2 separate regions of the Homo sapiens genome follow, and region 1 is linked to region 2. The links are contacts of gene promoters, found by promoter capture Hi-C in blood cells and fetal thymus (Javierre and others, 2016). All regions are on one chromosome and are shown on one strand. The core of a region is centred on a gene start or on the middle of the fragment in contact, and the rest is flanking DNA. Distances in the headings are between cores, read along the strand shown. Region 1 holds the start of CSPG4 (chondroitin sulfate proteoglycan 4). Region 2 holds the start of MAN2C1 (mannosidase alpha class 2C member 1).

Region 1 (6,750 bases), core at 1,737-4,236, 340 kb after region 2:
TAGGGAGGGAGGCTCCGTTACACTTGCTCTAGAACAGTTTTTCTCGAGTCCGGGTGGGCTGGGCCAAGGGCTCTGGCCCCTGGGCCCTGCCCTGCTCCGGAGGCCTGGGGTGGCACACAAGGTGCACACAAGGCTCAGTGCCTGTCCCGAGCACCATCGGTCCCCCCAAGCCATCCTCAGAGGCAGCAGGATCTACCCTGCTTCAATTTCTTGTACCTGGTGTCCCTGTGGCCCTGCTCACTAAGATACCCCCATCAGTTCTGAGTCCCCACCCAGGTAACACACAAGCCCTCCCTGCCAGGTACTCCCCAACCTGGGTCCCACTTCAACCCCTCACATTCTGCCTTTCAGTCAGTGATGCCAGGGAAGAGGTGTGGGAGCCACCACCCCTGCCTGCCCTGTGCTCACTGTGACCCCCCGACTAGAATGTCACCTCCTTCCTTCTCTGCCTGTCCTTCCAGTATCAGCTCAAATCCAATCTCCCCCAATGCTTGGCTCTCTGCTGGGGCCTCCCATACAGCTCAGAAGGAGCTGGACACCGCATCTGTCACCCACACTGTCTCAGTGGCCCAAGCCTAGGCCCCGACGCAGGCTGGGAGCACCCTCGAAGCAGGGCTGGGGGCTCTTCCTGGGCTGCTGGGGTTCTTGGTGGAACTCAGAGTACTTTTCTTCCTCTCTGGGGCCTCAGTTTCCCTCTCTATACAAGTGGAAGATTGGCCCAGATGGCCTCTAGGGTGCTGACTGCCAGGCCCCCTGACCTGGATGCCTCAAATGTTGATGAGTAGAGGGAGAGCCTCCCAGCACGCCTCATTCGGATACGGGAGGACGAGGGCCTTTGCAGCCAGGGGCATCCAGGAGGGGTGGGAGGGACGCCTTCCTCAGGCAGGGGCTGCCCCTACTGCAGAAATCAGGGCAGGCAGCTGGACCAGGAGTGGTGACAGAGATGGGTTGCTGGACGGGAGCTCTCACAGCCCCTCCTCATTTCCGAGTCCTCCTAAAGGCAGGGGATGGTGTAACTTTATAAAACCCCACAGCACCATGCTGCTCTCTTGCCCTAAAACCCTTGTGGCATCTCCTTTGCCAACAGGGCATAAGGCCGTGGGCTTCATTTTGCCATTTAAGGCTTCTGTGCCCCAGCCCAGTGGTTCTCCCTGGCCTGTGCTCGAAATACGCCTCCCAGCCAGGCTGCTGGCCTTCCTGTCTCAACACCCCTCTGCTTACGCCCACCTTGGTGCCTCTGAGTCAGCGCCCCTGCCTGGAGGACTGACTCCCTTCCCATCCACCAAGGCTTGGTTTGAGGCCCACCCTGTGTCCTGCCCCAGCTTGCCCCTGCTTTTCTCCCCTCTGTACTTTTCATCCAGATTTTTGCTGTTTGAGATTTAATTTGCCTTTCTGCCTCCTGAATGAGTCTCAGTTCAGCCTCTCAATTTCCCGTGCCCCTGCGAGCCTAGCACCATGCCTGCATGCTGTCAGGGCTAAGAAGGTATTTGAGAATGGCTCTCAGTTGAAGCCCAAGGAGGTGGGGGTACTGGAATCCCTCCTTGGCTGGAGGCTGGGGCCTGAATGAGCTGACCACCCTGGTCACCTTGGATGCTCCCTTCCCATCTCCCTGGCGGCCCAGCCCATCCCTCAGGCCCTGAGATCTTAGGGGATCTGGTCCCTGCAGGAACAGGGAGCCTGGAGATCCAGCCCTGATTCACCCCGCGGGGGTCCTCCCTTGACTCACTTCCCTTCTGGGAACCATGTGATGCCCTCTTTTAGAGCTGGCTTCTCCATCTGAAGGAGAGAAGGGTGTGGCCTGGGCCCTTGTGAAGGAGGCTCAGGCCCTGCCTTTGCTCCATGTTGCTCTTGGGAATGATCTCGAAGGTGTAGCTGAAGCACTGAATCACACGTGGGTAGTGATGATGGATGGGCCCTAAGGCCACAGTTCTTATGGCATAACTAGAGCTGCCTTCGCTGAAGGAAGAATGCTGTCATGTTGGGGTTTCTGGCATCGGGACAGAGAGGGGATATATCCCAGCACTTCTCGGAAAGCGAACTTCCATTCAGCCTCTGCTGGGTCAGGCATCAGTGCTGGGATGAGGAGGTGTGGCAGGGGGTGGTCCAGAGCTATCTGTAGGACAAGCCCCGCTGAGGGGCACCAGCTCTCCCTCTAGGAGGCTGAGAGTGGGTAGTGGGTGGGGGGTCCTGCCTGTCACCAACAGGAGGAGGGAGAGGAGAGAATGAAGAGGGGAGGTGGCAGATAGACGGATCTGCAAGGAAGCAAGGGGAGGAAAGAAGGGGCAGAGCTGGGGGGCAGCTGGAGGGGTGTGGGGGTGCTCCTCACAGGGGAGGGCAGGGTGGCTCATTCCTCGTTTCCCACCTTGTAGCACTCCCCATTCCTGGCCCAGGGCATCTGAAGCTGGAGGACCCACTTCTCACTGTCGCCGGGTCCCTTTGGACCCCAACATACTCACCCCAAACTTGCCTGGCAAACAAAGCTCGGCCAGCATTGGGGTGGCCCCACTGGTGTCTCAGACAATCCAAACGGGCAAAGCCACGCCCTAGGCAATCCATGCCTGGGGCGCCTGCTCCCGCCCCTAACTGGACAGCCTTGGCTAGCTAGAAACCCCATAACCTGAGATAGCGGGGTCCCGTGTCCGCCCCAGGATTGAACCCCTGGCGACCCCAGCTAGTGGTGGGAGAAGCGCAGCCTGCTTGACTCCCGATCTGGGGGCCACTTCTGGCTCCTCCTGTCCCTTTTCCCTCCCGGAGGAACCCCTCTAGTTCCGCCAGGCTGGGTCGGGGTCTCAGGCCCCTCACTCACCCGCGGATGCAAGTCTGGCCAACATAGTCAGGGTCAAAGCCAAGGCCAGGCCGGGGGCTGGAAGTGGGGGCCGCGGCCCGGACTGCATCCCGGCGGGCTGGGCGGCAGGACTTGCGAGGAGCCAGCGGAGTCCTGGGAGCTGGGAGCTGAGTGGAGCGAGCGCGGCTCTGCTCCTGGGCGCGGGCCGGCTCCGGGTGTCCGCGCACTTAACTCCGGGGGCGGGGCAGGCGCAGACCCGCGCGCCCGCTCGGGTTTCAGGCTTGGACTCCCCCACCTGCCCCCACCCTCAACCTTCTTAAAGGGCCCGTGCGGGGCTGTTCCTCTCTGGGGCAGGGGTGAGGGGGCCCTTGCAGCTGGGCCAGACCCCAGCCCCACCCTAAAGACTTAGAACAAAGTCATAGAGAGGCCCAGACACCCTGAACTCTGGCCCCAAGAGCCGAGCCCGGGAGACCCCCTCAGGGAGGAGGCATGAACTGTCCCAGCCCCTACTTCCCTCCTTTCTGCCTTTGCGGGAGTTCAGGAGACCCCTCCACAGGCACACTCCAGCCTTAGGAGGAAGGACAGACACCAGCCACCCTCACAGGCGGCTTTTGGGCTGCTTTGCCTCGGAGGTCCCCTAGGAACTTCTCCAGACTCCAGAGGCACCACCCGAGGTCCTGTGGGGCACTGCCCATGGCTGCAACAGTGACCTTCTCTGCCTGGAAGGGCCTCACCTCAGTCTCCCTGTCTGTAAGGGAGAGATGTCTGGATTTCCTCGCAGGGCAGAAGAATTCTCAGTCCCGCCATGACATTTGCCTCAAAATAACCTTGCAAGGTGGGTGAGGAGCATCCCCTCCCCCATTTCATGGAGGACGAAAGTGCAGCTCAAGCTGAAAGTGGCTCTTACAAGACTCCAGGTGGAAAGTAGGTCCCTGGCCGTTTGGTGCCAGAAGCCCAGGCCTCCTGACCCCTGAATCCGGGTGTTTCAACTTCCCGAGGCTGCCTCCTGGAAATCTGGCCCTGGATTTGGCTTCTACCTAACAGCTTCAGGCTGGGGCCCTTCTGCTGGCTCCCTTCCAGGCAGCAACATCAGCCTAGTCCCAAACAGGAGGAGAAAGGGCAATGTTACTTAGCTTCCGGTGCCTAGAGGATCTGCGTGTTCTCTGTCCAGTCCCAATGTTACCGGGCCTTGGTTTACTTCCTCCATTCAGGTCCCTCCATCTATCTGCTCCAGCCCATCTCCAGCCCAACCCCACCTTGCACCCTCTTCCCAGCTCTTCCCTTTGACCAGTAACAGCCCAGCACTTCATACTTTGCAACGAAACTGAGACCTGTTTTGCAGATGAAGAAACTGAGGCTGAGAGAGATTAAGGGACTGGAGCTAGTCTACATAGCTGCTGAGATGTGGGGCCAGGTCTTTGACCCTAAGTGCAGTGCTCAGGTGTGATGGTGCCTGGTCCATGTGGGGGTTATGAGTATTGGTCTTGAAACCAGAGAGACCTGGGTTCAAATCCCAGCTCCCTTACTTGGTTGTCAAACCTTGAACAAGTCCCCTCACCTCTCTGTGGCAGTTTCCTCATTTGTAAAATTGGGTTAATGAGGATTAAATGCTTTAATGTACCTCAAGTCCCTAGCCCAGGGCCTGGCATACGGTAGGTGCTCAATAAATGCTTATCCTTTCTCCTCCGTCTCTGTCATCCTGCACATTCCCTGTGATTCATGGTTTACATACAGCTTTACACATATCACCTCCCTTGTTGTAAAGCTTGAACTTTCTCCTCCAGAGGCTGCTGCATACAGTAGGTGTACAATAAATGCCTGCTGTAGTTGACTAAGAAACCAATTGCTGCTGTTCTGTAGGGATTTTGGCAAACCTAAGAGCTTCCATCCAGGTGCCCTAGGAGGCCTGGGATGGAGGCTGTGCTAGGCTGGCCTCAGTGGCGGTAAAGGCATTGATTCCACAATTTGTCCCTTGTTTTTTTTTTTTTTTTTTTTGAGACAGAGTCTCGCTCTGTTGCCCAGGCTGGAGTGTAATGGCGCGATCTCGGCTCACTGCAACCTCTGCCTCCCGGGTTCAAGCGATTCTCCTGCCTCAGCCTCCTGAGTAGCTGGGATTGCAGGTGTGCACCACCATGCCTGGCTAATTTTTGTATTTTTAGTAGAGATGGGGTTTCACCATGTTGACCAGGCTGGTCTTGAACTCCTGACCTCGTGATCTGCCCGCCTCAGCCTCCCAAAGTGCTGGGATTACAGGTGTGAGCCACCGCGCCCGGCTGTCCCTTGTTTTTCCTTCTCCTCAAGTCGGTAGGACACCTGGTCCTCATTAGGGGCTAATTACTGACAAGCTATGGGGCTGGGGGTGGGGGTGCTGCTTGGAAGACTGTGTTTGGAGGAAAAGAGCTTTCTTTTCAGGAATGAAAAAATAAGACAGAAGGCTTTTTGCTCTATGAATCAAAAATCTGGGTGAAGATCTCTGCTGGCCCCATCTCCCCCCCCCACCCCCTCCCCATCTTCCCTGCTCCCCACCTACACAGATGTCTGTGGAGCCTCCAGACAGGGTGCTCCCACCCACAGCTGAGATTCAAGTCTGGATTAGCTGGGAGCCTCCCCCTGCCTTGTTGCTAGCTGGGCAGAGAAACACAGGCCTGGAAAATAATGGCAACCAGCACAGCGGTAATAACCCGGCTGGCGCATCTCTGCTGGGGCTTCCCAGTTTACAAAAAACATTCACTTGGTCTCTTGACAACTTTGGGAAGCGTATGTGTTGGCCAACTGTGTCCCTGCTTCCAGATGAGGAAACTGAGGCTCTCAGTGGAAAAGGGATGCTGCGGCTCCAGCGCACACAGGCCTGGCCTTTGCTCAGCCGTAACCTAGGGCTGGAACTCCGGACCAATGCTGAGCAGCATCATGCCAGGCAGACTGGCAGAAAGTCGAGGTCCCTGTGTGCCTTTGGAACTGACCCCTGACCACCTCCCACTGTCTTGGAACAAAGGCTGCTGGACCAGCTGTGCCTGCTCCTCAACTGTCCCCTCTCCAGCTCCTCAGCAAGCTCACCCAAGGCCCTGAAGCCTCAGTGCTGAACAGAGCTGACCTGGGCCTCTCTGGCATCCTCAGGTCTGGCTCGGGCCTTCTTCCTTCTGCCCTCCAACCTTTCCCATGACTTTGCTTGGCCAGGCATCCTTGGTGGCCATCCCTGACTGCCCCTACCTCCCTGGCCACATCTCACCTTCCTCCAGCAAGCCCTCCTAGCCCTCCTTCGTGCTCGTCGACTTCTCTTTCAAAAGATTCCCTGGAATCCTGATCTCCGTAGCTCTCCTAGTTTCACCTGGGGCCTGCTTAGCTGGGTCAGGAGGTGTGCGTCCATGCCTCCCCAGCCAAGCATGGGACAGAGCACAGGGTGGGAGGGAGGAGGAAAGAAGGAGGCTTAGAACACACTTATAAGAAGGAAGAAGGATGTTCCCACCCAGGGGCAAAAGAAGATTCAAACTTCTCTGAAGCTACAGTGACCTGTGGTATGTGCTGCCTCCATTTCTCCAATTGTTCTTGGAGAACAAGACAACAGAGGGCCCAGTAATACTCACCTCCCTGCCAGCAGAGTTCACCCAACCATGCTGGCCAAGCACTGCTGGTCACTCCTACCTCTAGTGCTTCTTGGACTAAGAGTCCCCGCTCTGGGCAGTGGCTGTGGTTTGGCCCCACCCTTGGCCAGGGTGTTTTGCACCCTCGTTGCCTGGGCCCCACCCAAGAAGCCTGTGGCCAAAGCCAGCTTGCTGGGAAATGGTGTGTGCCTGTGCCCTAGATGGGGTGGTGCCTAAGCAGGGGTGTGCTCCTGCTGCCCAGGGCCCGCCCTCAGGGAATTGGCCCTCTGCCATGAAGGTCACAGAACCTAGGCCACTACTGTGCAAGAGGGCACGGGCTTTAGGCGCTGGCTCAGTGGCCCTGCAGTTTTCTGGCCAAGAGCTCCA
Region 2 (7,549 bases), core at 3,179-5,678:
TCCCGAGGCCCTGCAGCAGGGTTCTGCCCCTTAATCCCTTTTTCAAGCACAGCTTCCAGACCTAGGCTCCACTGATCTCAGGGCTCTCAGCAGAGCTCCCCTGACCCCCAACCCTTTTTCCCTGCTGGTCCCCCTGCTCAGCACCGTCTCCCTCCTCCCCTTCACATAGGAAAATTCTCTCAACCCTCAAGCAGGTGGAAACCCTCGTCCTACTCTGGATTCCCAGAGTCCCATTTATCTGACCCAAAGAACAACCTTCTTGGAGCAGGGCTCTAGAGGGTAGCAGGGGGTACAGGGGGTGTCAAGTACCTTGGCTATGCCCAGCAGCAGCTCCAGATCCACCAGGAGCATGTGGACATCCCGGTGGAACACAGCTAGCTCAGCCCGGCTCAGCTGGAACATCTTCTCAGGGTCAGGGGCTGCAATCATGCTTCCCTTCCCGGCCCCCAGGAGCCCATTGCAGGCTACTTCCACATAGAGAGTGAGGCTACAAAGATGGGGAGACAGCCTCAGGCTAAGGGACTGGCACAGTACTCCGGGGACTTGGGGAAGGGGCACCCAGGAGGCATCCAGCTGAGCCCAACCTGTCTGCTTCCAGGATCCACTACCCAGAGGATCCCACAGTGTGACAAGAGTGCATGTGGGAGGGTTGTGGTACAAACACCAGATGGATCCCATGTCTTGCTGTCAGAGAGAATAAGTAGCAAAGTTTGGAACCATGTAAAGTACGCTGCTGTTTAGTCTTATATTTCCAAAGTTGTCTTTGCAAAGCACTGCCTTGGTCTTGGAACCCTCTTTGCATATTAAAATCATGTTCGGATCTCCCAGGCTCAAACTTTTAGACCCAAGATCTAAAACCAACACGGCCAACATGGGCGGGCCATTCATTGGAGAACAGGCTGGGCTGTGGTGATGCCATACTTAGGCTTCAGAGAGCAAACACGACTTCCTTAGGGAGGCCTTCCTGACTCCACTTCGCTGCTAAGTCTAGAGCAAATTCCTCAGTGGAGTACCCAGGATTTCCTTCCAGAGCCCTCAGTTTTGTAATTATATGAGTGAATCTGTCTCCCTTTGTTGGCAAGGGCTATTTTATTCACCACCATACTCCCAGTGTCTGAAAGCATCTGAAACAGTGTCAATCTATATAAAATACATTCATAATGTCTAAGAAGTGTTTTTAATGGTGTCATAAAATGTCCATGTTATAACATGGAATGTAAGAAGTCAGGATACAATCTTAACTAGTAAAAACTATACCGGGATGAGCCGGGCACGGTGGCTCATTCCTGTAATCCCAGCACTTTGGGAGACTCAGGCAAGTGGATAGCCTGAGGTCAGCAGTTTGAGACCAGCCTGGCCAACAGAGTCAAACCCCGTCTCTACTAAAAATACAAAAAATTAGCTGGGCATGGTGGTGGGCACCTGTAATCTCAGCTAGTAGGGAGGCTGAGGCAGGAGAATTGCTTGAACCTGGGAGGCGGCGGTCGCAGTGAGCCGAGATCGTGCCATTGCACTCCAGCCTGGGTAACAAAAGCGAAACTCCGTCTCAAAAAAATCCAAAAAAACCCCCCCGAAAAAACAAAAAAAACTATGCCGGAAAGATACACCAAGAACATGAATACTGGGCCAGGTGCGGTGGCTCACGCCTGTAATTCCAGCATTTTGGGAAGCTGAGAGGGGCGGATAACCTGAGGTCAAGAATTTGAGAGTAGCCTGGCCAACACGGTGAAACCCTTTCTCTACCAAAAATAAAAAAAAAATAGCTGGACGTGGTGGCACACACCTGTAATCCCTGCTACTCGGGAAGCTGAGGCATGAGAATCGCTTGAACCTGGGAGGCAGAAGGTACAGTGAGCTGCGATCGTGCTACTGTACTCCAGCATCGGCGACAGAGGGAGACTTCGTCTCAAAAAAAAGAACATGAATGCTGAGATGTTAATAATGTTCATCTCTATTCTAGGGAGTGGAATAACGGTAGTTATTTACTTCTTTGTGCTTTCCTGTATTTACCACAGGCAAACATTGCTATTATTTTTGAGACAAGGTCTCACTCTGTTGCCCAGGCTGCAGTGCAGCGGTGTGATCATGGCTCACTGCAGCCTCATCCTCCTGGGCTCAGGTGATCCTCCCACTCAGCCTCCCAGGGTAGTGTGGGTCACTGCACCCAGCCCATTATTTTTATGGTTAGGAAAAAATCATGCTTTTAAAAGCAAACAATGAGATGTGAGGATGATTGTGCTAGAGCAGAGGCGGGCTTATGAGATCACTCTGGGCCTCAGCTCCTCCTTGCTCACTGGTACTCCCTCCCTGACAGCACTGGTCAACCAGGGCACAGGGACTCACCTTCGGGGGTCTCTTTCCCCCAGCCTGTCAGTCAGGACATAGCTGGTCTTCTCACCCTCTTTGGTTAAACCCTAGTAGGGAGGGGAGTGAGAGAGACAAGGCTTGAGGCTTTTGGACAGTTCAGGTAAAGTGTAAGCCATGGGGAGTCAGGCCCCTCCATCTGGTTCCCAGCTCTGGGTCCTCTCTCCCAAGCAGGGCCAAGATTGGCAAATCAGGGACCCTTGGCAGTAGATGCCCCAACTCCCATGGCAGCCAGCACCATGACCGTCAAATAGCCCCTGTTTACCAGTGGCAAACCCATGGTCTTATGGGAAGGGCCCTGGGAAGGGGTTAGGCAGCCTGAGTGTGGATTCTGGTGGCCTCTGCACCCCTAAATAAATACCGGGAAAGAAACTCCGTGAAGTCAGGGGCAGGTTTGCCTCATTCCCTGCTACACCCTAGTGCTTAAGGGTATGGCCCAGAATGGACACCAGGAGATATTTGCTGAGCCAGTGAAGGGAGGAAGGGATGGTCTCTGCCTTCTTGTAGCCAGGAAGAACAGTCTTAACCCCAGATTGAGAGTCAGTCCAATTTGAAATAGAAGCTGTGTGAACCTGAGTGAGTCAACTACACATCTGTTTCTTAATTTGTAAATGGGTATAAAGACCTACTAGATAGGAGTATAAGGACTAAACCTGATAAGGGTGGAGCATGAATAAGACACTTAACAGTGGTTATAGCTGGGGAATGGGATGGGTGATAAGGAGAGATCCATTACTTTATCTAGAACTGTTTGAAATGTTTTCCTATAAGTTTGTATTATACACAATAAAAACTAAGGACCAATTGCACAGATGCCCAAGTGGCAACTTCCCTAGTCCTGAAATCCTGATACCACCCTGTGGGCAGAGCAACTCAGCTGTGGCTTCTCCAGAGTCCACAGAAGAAGGGCTGTAGTCATTTCAGGGCTGAAATGTGGCCATACCTGGCCCTAGGACAGGGTTCCTCACCTGGACAGGTTCTCCATCACGCCACACCAGACCTTCTCCATCACTTTCCCAGCAAAGGTGAACTTCCTGGCCCACCCATGCCTCTGGGATGGTCAGCTCCACCCGGAACCAGCAGGTCCACCATCTGCAAGAGAGCTGTTGTGATAGGCCTAGAGGTAGAAGTCCTATCCTGATATCCTTCCTTGGATAAAGTGTCGGCAGGGGCTTGAAACTCTCCAAGCATCTGCAGTGTCACAAGGTACTCAGCTTTGAGTCACAAGAAAGGAGCAACAAGGTGAGAAGCAAGATGAGGGAAACAGGCAGAGGCGTCAAAGGTTCGTGATCCCTAGGGTGCCCTTCCTAAGGGATGTCCAGAGGCGGCCACGTGGGAATGAAAACCATCCCCTGAAGACCCAGGGACCAGAGAGCTGTTCCCAGCAGAGGGTGCTGCTCCCAGCAGAGGGTGCTGCTCGATCCCACGTAGTTGTCTACGGCAGAGGGCAGACAACGAAGGTGTGGCTGGGAGCTGGGTTGGGACTTCCCCTAGGCCTGTGGCCCCGCCCACCCGCTGGGCGTTACCTACGTGGGTCCGAAGCTGTCGCCGACCTGCGCGGGGCGGAAGTCCCGCTGGACTGCCTCCTGGTAGGGAAGTCTCTCCGGCGTCAGGAAGCTGGAGAGCACAGCCACAGGGCAGCTGGCCCCAAAAAGCCTGCGTGGGACGGGCCGGTGGGCACATGCTGGAGGCCGCCCCGTTTCCGCCTGGGGGCCAGCTGGCCGGTGGGGCCGCACTTTCCCTGGATCCTCCGCCAAGAGGGCTGCCTGGCCGCTCCGCGGCACAGTCCATTCCCTACCCCCTCCTCCCCGGCCCCTGCCCTGCCCGCGGCGGGCACTTTGTCCCGCGGCCCGGGTGGCTGCAGCTTAGGTTTCTCCCCGGAAGGAAAGCTTGAGGCGCACGGTTGCGGTCGGCCGGCTGCGGGGGACCAGGGGCCACACCTGCCGCGGAGGTTACAGTCGGTAAAGTAGAGCGGCGACACGAACTTCTCCACCCGCTCCAGCGTGGTGCGCCAGTGCTTCAAGGCCGGCGCAGCCGCCATCGCCGGGCTCTCGCTCCTCTTTCCGGAAGGCCCCTGGCGCTACCGTTCCGCTCCACGGCAGGAAACCAAAGGTTCCGGCGTCCAGAGGGCGCCTCCCAGTCCCGGGCAGCTTTTCTTGGAACACCGGCGGCTCTCGGAAGCCCAGCTGCTGTCTGAACTTTGAGCCGAGTTGGAAGCTAGAAACTGTTTTTGAGGCTCTCCTATGTTGTCCGAAATAGTGGGCCGCAGGGAAAATCTCAAAATAAAATGGGAAATTTGACGATTAGAACTCTCGAAAGTCTCAAGACAGAGACTTAGGCCATTCGGCAAGACAGGCGGGAGCCTCAGCTGCTGCAGACCCAGCCTCAGAAGCAGCAACCGGGAGACCTCTGGCTCTAGCTGTCGGTGAACACGGAAAGTGGTGTTTGCTTAACGTGGAGCCAGACTACCCGGAATAGGTGTTTTCATACCGGACGGAGATCAGGGTGTTAGTGAGCAGGGTGGTAGAGCTTTACGCCCAAGTTACTACGACTTACTCGATTACACGCTTTACTGAATGTATATTGCTAACTCTTGCACATCACCAGAAACTCTGGAGTTTGAGGTGGCAGAACAGTCATGGCATTGACGATCCCAATGGAAAAATGTATTTCACCATACAGGACTGTAGAGTCCCGGGAAGCCATAATACCAGAAACAGACCTCCAGTTTCATTCTCATCCCTAGTACTCCACTGACAGCTTTATTTTTTTTCTCCTGGGGTTGCCAAGAGTCTTTGTCTATAAAATCATTAGGAACAAAAAAAAATACACAAGATTAGCCCTGATATTTTAATGGAAATACTGACCAAGTTTACAACATTTCAAATGCAGATCACACGGAAAGGTGACTAAGTACAGAATAACAAATGTGATTTAAAACAAAGATAACCTGCTGCTGCATATAATACAGGTTGGGTTTAGAGCTTGGAGCTCAGATGTCAGACAGCAGGAGGAATAAAAATGCTACTTGTGAAAACCCAGGCTGTAGGTAAAACTTACTCTTTTGTTGGTTGCACTGGTGGGTTGGGACTTTCTCCTGAACTGGCCTTGAAATCCTATCCTGACCTGCAGGCAAGTGCTCTGGACAAAACACTGCAGGGGCAGCAACAGCTGGGGCTGACCCTGATCACACCCCACCAATTTCCCCTATGGTTCCAGGTCAACATGACCTTTCTTGAGGGAACACGGGGATAGGTGAATTATTTGAGAAAACCTCAAGATCTTTCCCCTAAATCAGTACACATGACCACCGCCAAGTCAGACACTGCCCCAGCTTTGCCCTAAAATCTCATCCCACAAAGCTCTTTTTGGCACCCTACACTTTGGCTCACAGTCTCTTCTCCCCAGTACAAAAAAAGCCTAAAATCAGGCCAGGGTGGCTCACACCTGTAATCTCAGCACTTTGCGAGGCCGAGGTGGGAGGACAGCTTGAGGCCAGGAGTTTGAGACCAACCTGGGCAGCATAGCAAGACCCTGTCTCTACAAAAAGTTAAAAAATTAGCTGGGCGTGGTGGCATGCAGCTACTCAGGAGGCCGAGGTGGGAGGACTGCTTGAGCCTGGGAGGTCAAGCCTGCAGTGAGCTATGATCGTGGCACTGCACTCCAGTGTGGGTCATAAAGCGAGACACTGTCTTTAAACAATAAAAGCCTAAAATCAGAGAGGTCTACCATGTGTTTTGAAAATCCAGGAGCCAAAAAATTTTGTTTTTCTTTTTGGTGGTGGTGGTGATTTTTAACTAAAAAGCAAACATAAAACACACAGAACATTGCTGGTTACAACTAAGACTTGCGTAATGGTTGCTGAAGAAAAATCCACCAGAGTACTGGGAGGGGCTCAGTTGGTCTTTGTTCAGAAAGTCCAGGTTAACCACATAGAAAAATCCTAATCATTCATGTTTAAATGTCTGCTAGTTTAAATTTATGTAATTAAAAAAATAGGTATCCCATTTCAAATTCTCTCCCTCCCAACTCCATTTATAAGGTATACCACATGCCTTATGCACACTTTTTTTTCAAACACTGGTTTGGTATTTAAGTTGCTCACCCCCATCCATCACCAATGTGAATAAGAAAAAATATATAGAAATACAAACTACATAGCTTGACAACTTACCCAAATATAAAATATTTTCAGATTATTTGAACAAGGGAAAAAAACACGTACTAAAAGACTTAAGTATTCTAAGATTTTGGAATATTTTGATTTGGGACAAGTAACAAGTATTTTAAGCAAAATCCTGTTTCTACCCTGGATAAGGAACTGAAGTCAAAATCCCTGCTTCACAGTATTTTCTGGTGAGGACAAGGGACGTGGGTTGAGAGTTTATTCCTTAAGTAAGAACCAAGCTTTATTTATTTACAAAAAAAAAAAAAAAAAAGTTGGGGGCAAAGGGGAAGACAAGTTTTACACAAAAGTACTACAATGGTAACTCCCTTTGGTAAAAAGTGTAATAAATGTCTTGTACATCTGTTCATAGGTACTAAATCTGAAGCCACAGTACTATGGTACACAAGAAGCTAGAGCAGTTATGCTAGCACATCAAAGCATATTTCTTTTAATAAAAAATTGACAGTATGTACATTATGTACAAAAAAACAAGTTAAAATTGTGTGTGTGTGTGCGTGTGTGTGTCAGAGAGTAAAGCTGGTGGATGGCACTAAGGTAGACTAGTAAAGAGGCAGATACAAAACAGTTCCACGGGAGCTAAAAAGGACAACTGATTTGAACTCGTTGAGGTTGAGAACCAGAGGAGAGAAAAGGGTAGGCAGCAAGGGAATCGTCAGGAATAAAATCCACAAGATGATCAATCCCAAAGCCAAACTGCAGGTCCCAGATAAAACCTAATGGGTGATCTTAGATGTGCTCGAGTGACCAGAAAAAAAAAATCAAATCCAGCTTTTTTTTCCTTTTGTGGGGAGGGGAGAGGAGCAGTGACCATGATAGTTCCAATCCATCTGAGTATTAAGTCCTTCTCCAGTCTGTTTTGTAAATGCATCTCCATCCAGTCAAAGTGTGAACAGCATCCGGTTCCCTCATTGAAAGTTAGGCCACAGGAGACTCCAGTCTTAGCTCTGCTGGTGTGTGCAAGCAAACTGCATGTCTTTGCTTGCATGGACTTCCTTC

The links. Contacts are between HindIII fragments. The CHiCAGO score rates a contact against its expected background, and 5 or more counts as called.
Region 1: a contact is called between the fragment with the promoter of CSPG4 here and the fragment with the promoter of MAN2C1 in region 2, in 1 of 17 cell types (erythroblasts). The highest score is 6.1, in erythroblasts.

What each region holds. Positions count from the first base shown.
Region 1 is chr15:75,709,862-75,716,611 of GRCh38, forward strand. CSPG4 (chondroitin sulfate proteoglycan 4) reads right to left here and starts at 2,987. Exons shown (of 10, transcript NM_001897.5): 1 at 2,807-2,987. The coding sequence starts at 2,894. The HindIII fragment of the contact is 21,900 bases long and covers 1-4,548 here.
Region 2 is chr15:75,364,179-75,371,727 of GRCh38, forward strand. MAN2C1 (mannosidase alpha class 2C member 1) reads right to left here and starts at 4,429. Exons shown (of 26, transcript NM_006715.4): 1 at 4,305-4,429; 2 at 3,895-4,020; 3 at 3,333-3,456; 4 at 2,344-2,414; 5 at 310-487; 6 at 1-10. The coding sequence starts at 4,405. It overlaps SIN3A (SIN3 transcription regulator family member A), which reads right to left. Exons shown (of 21, transcript NM_001145358.2): 21 at 5,201-7,549. RefSeq lists a silencer at 4,096-4,175 and enhancers at 4,202-4,734, 4,306-4,625, 4,310-4,604. The HindIII fragment of the contact is 2,518 bases long and covers 4,252-6,769 here.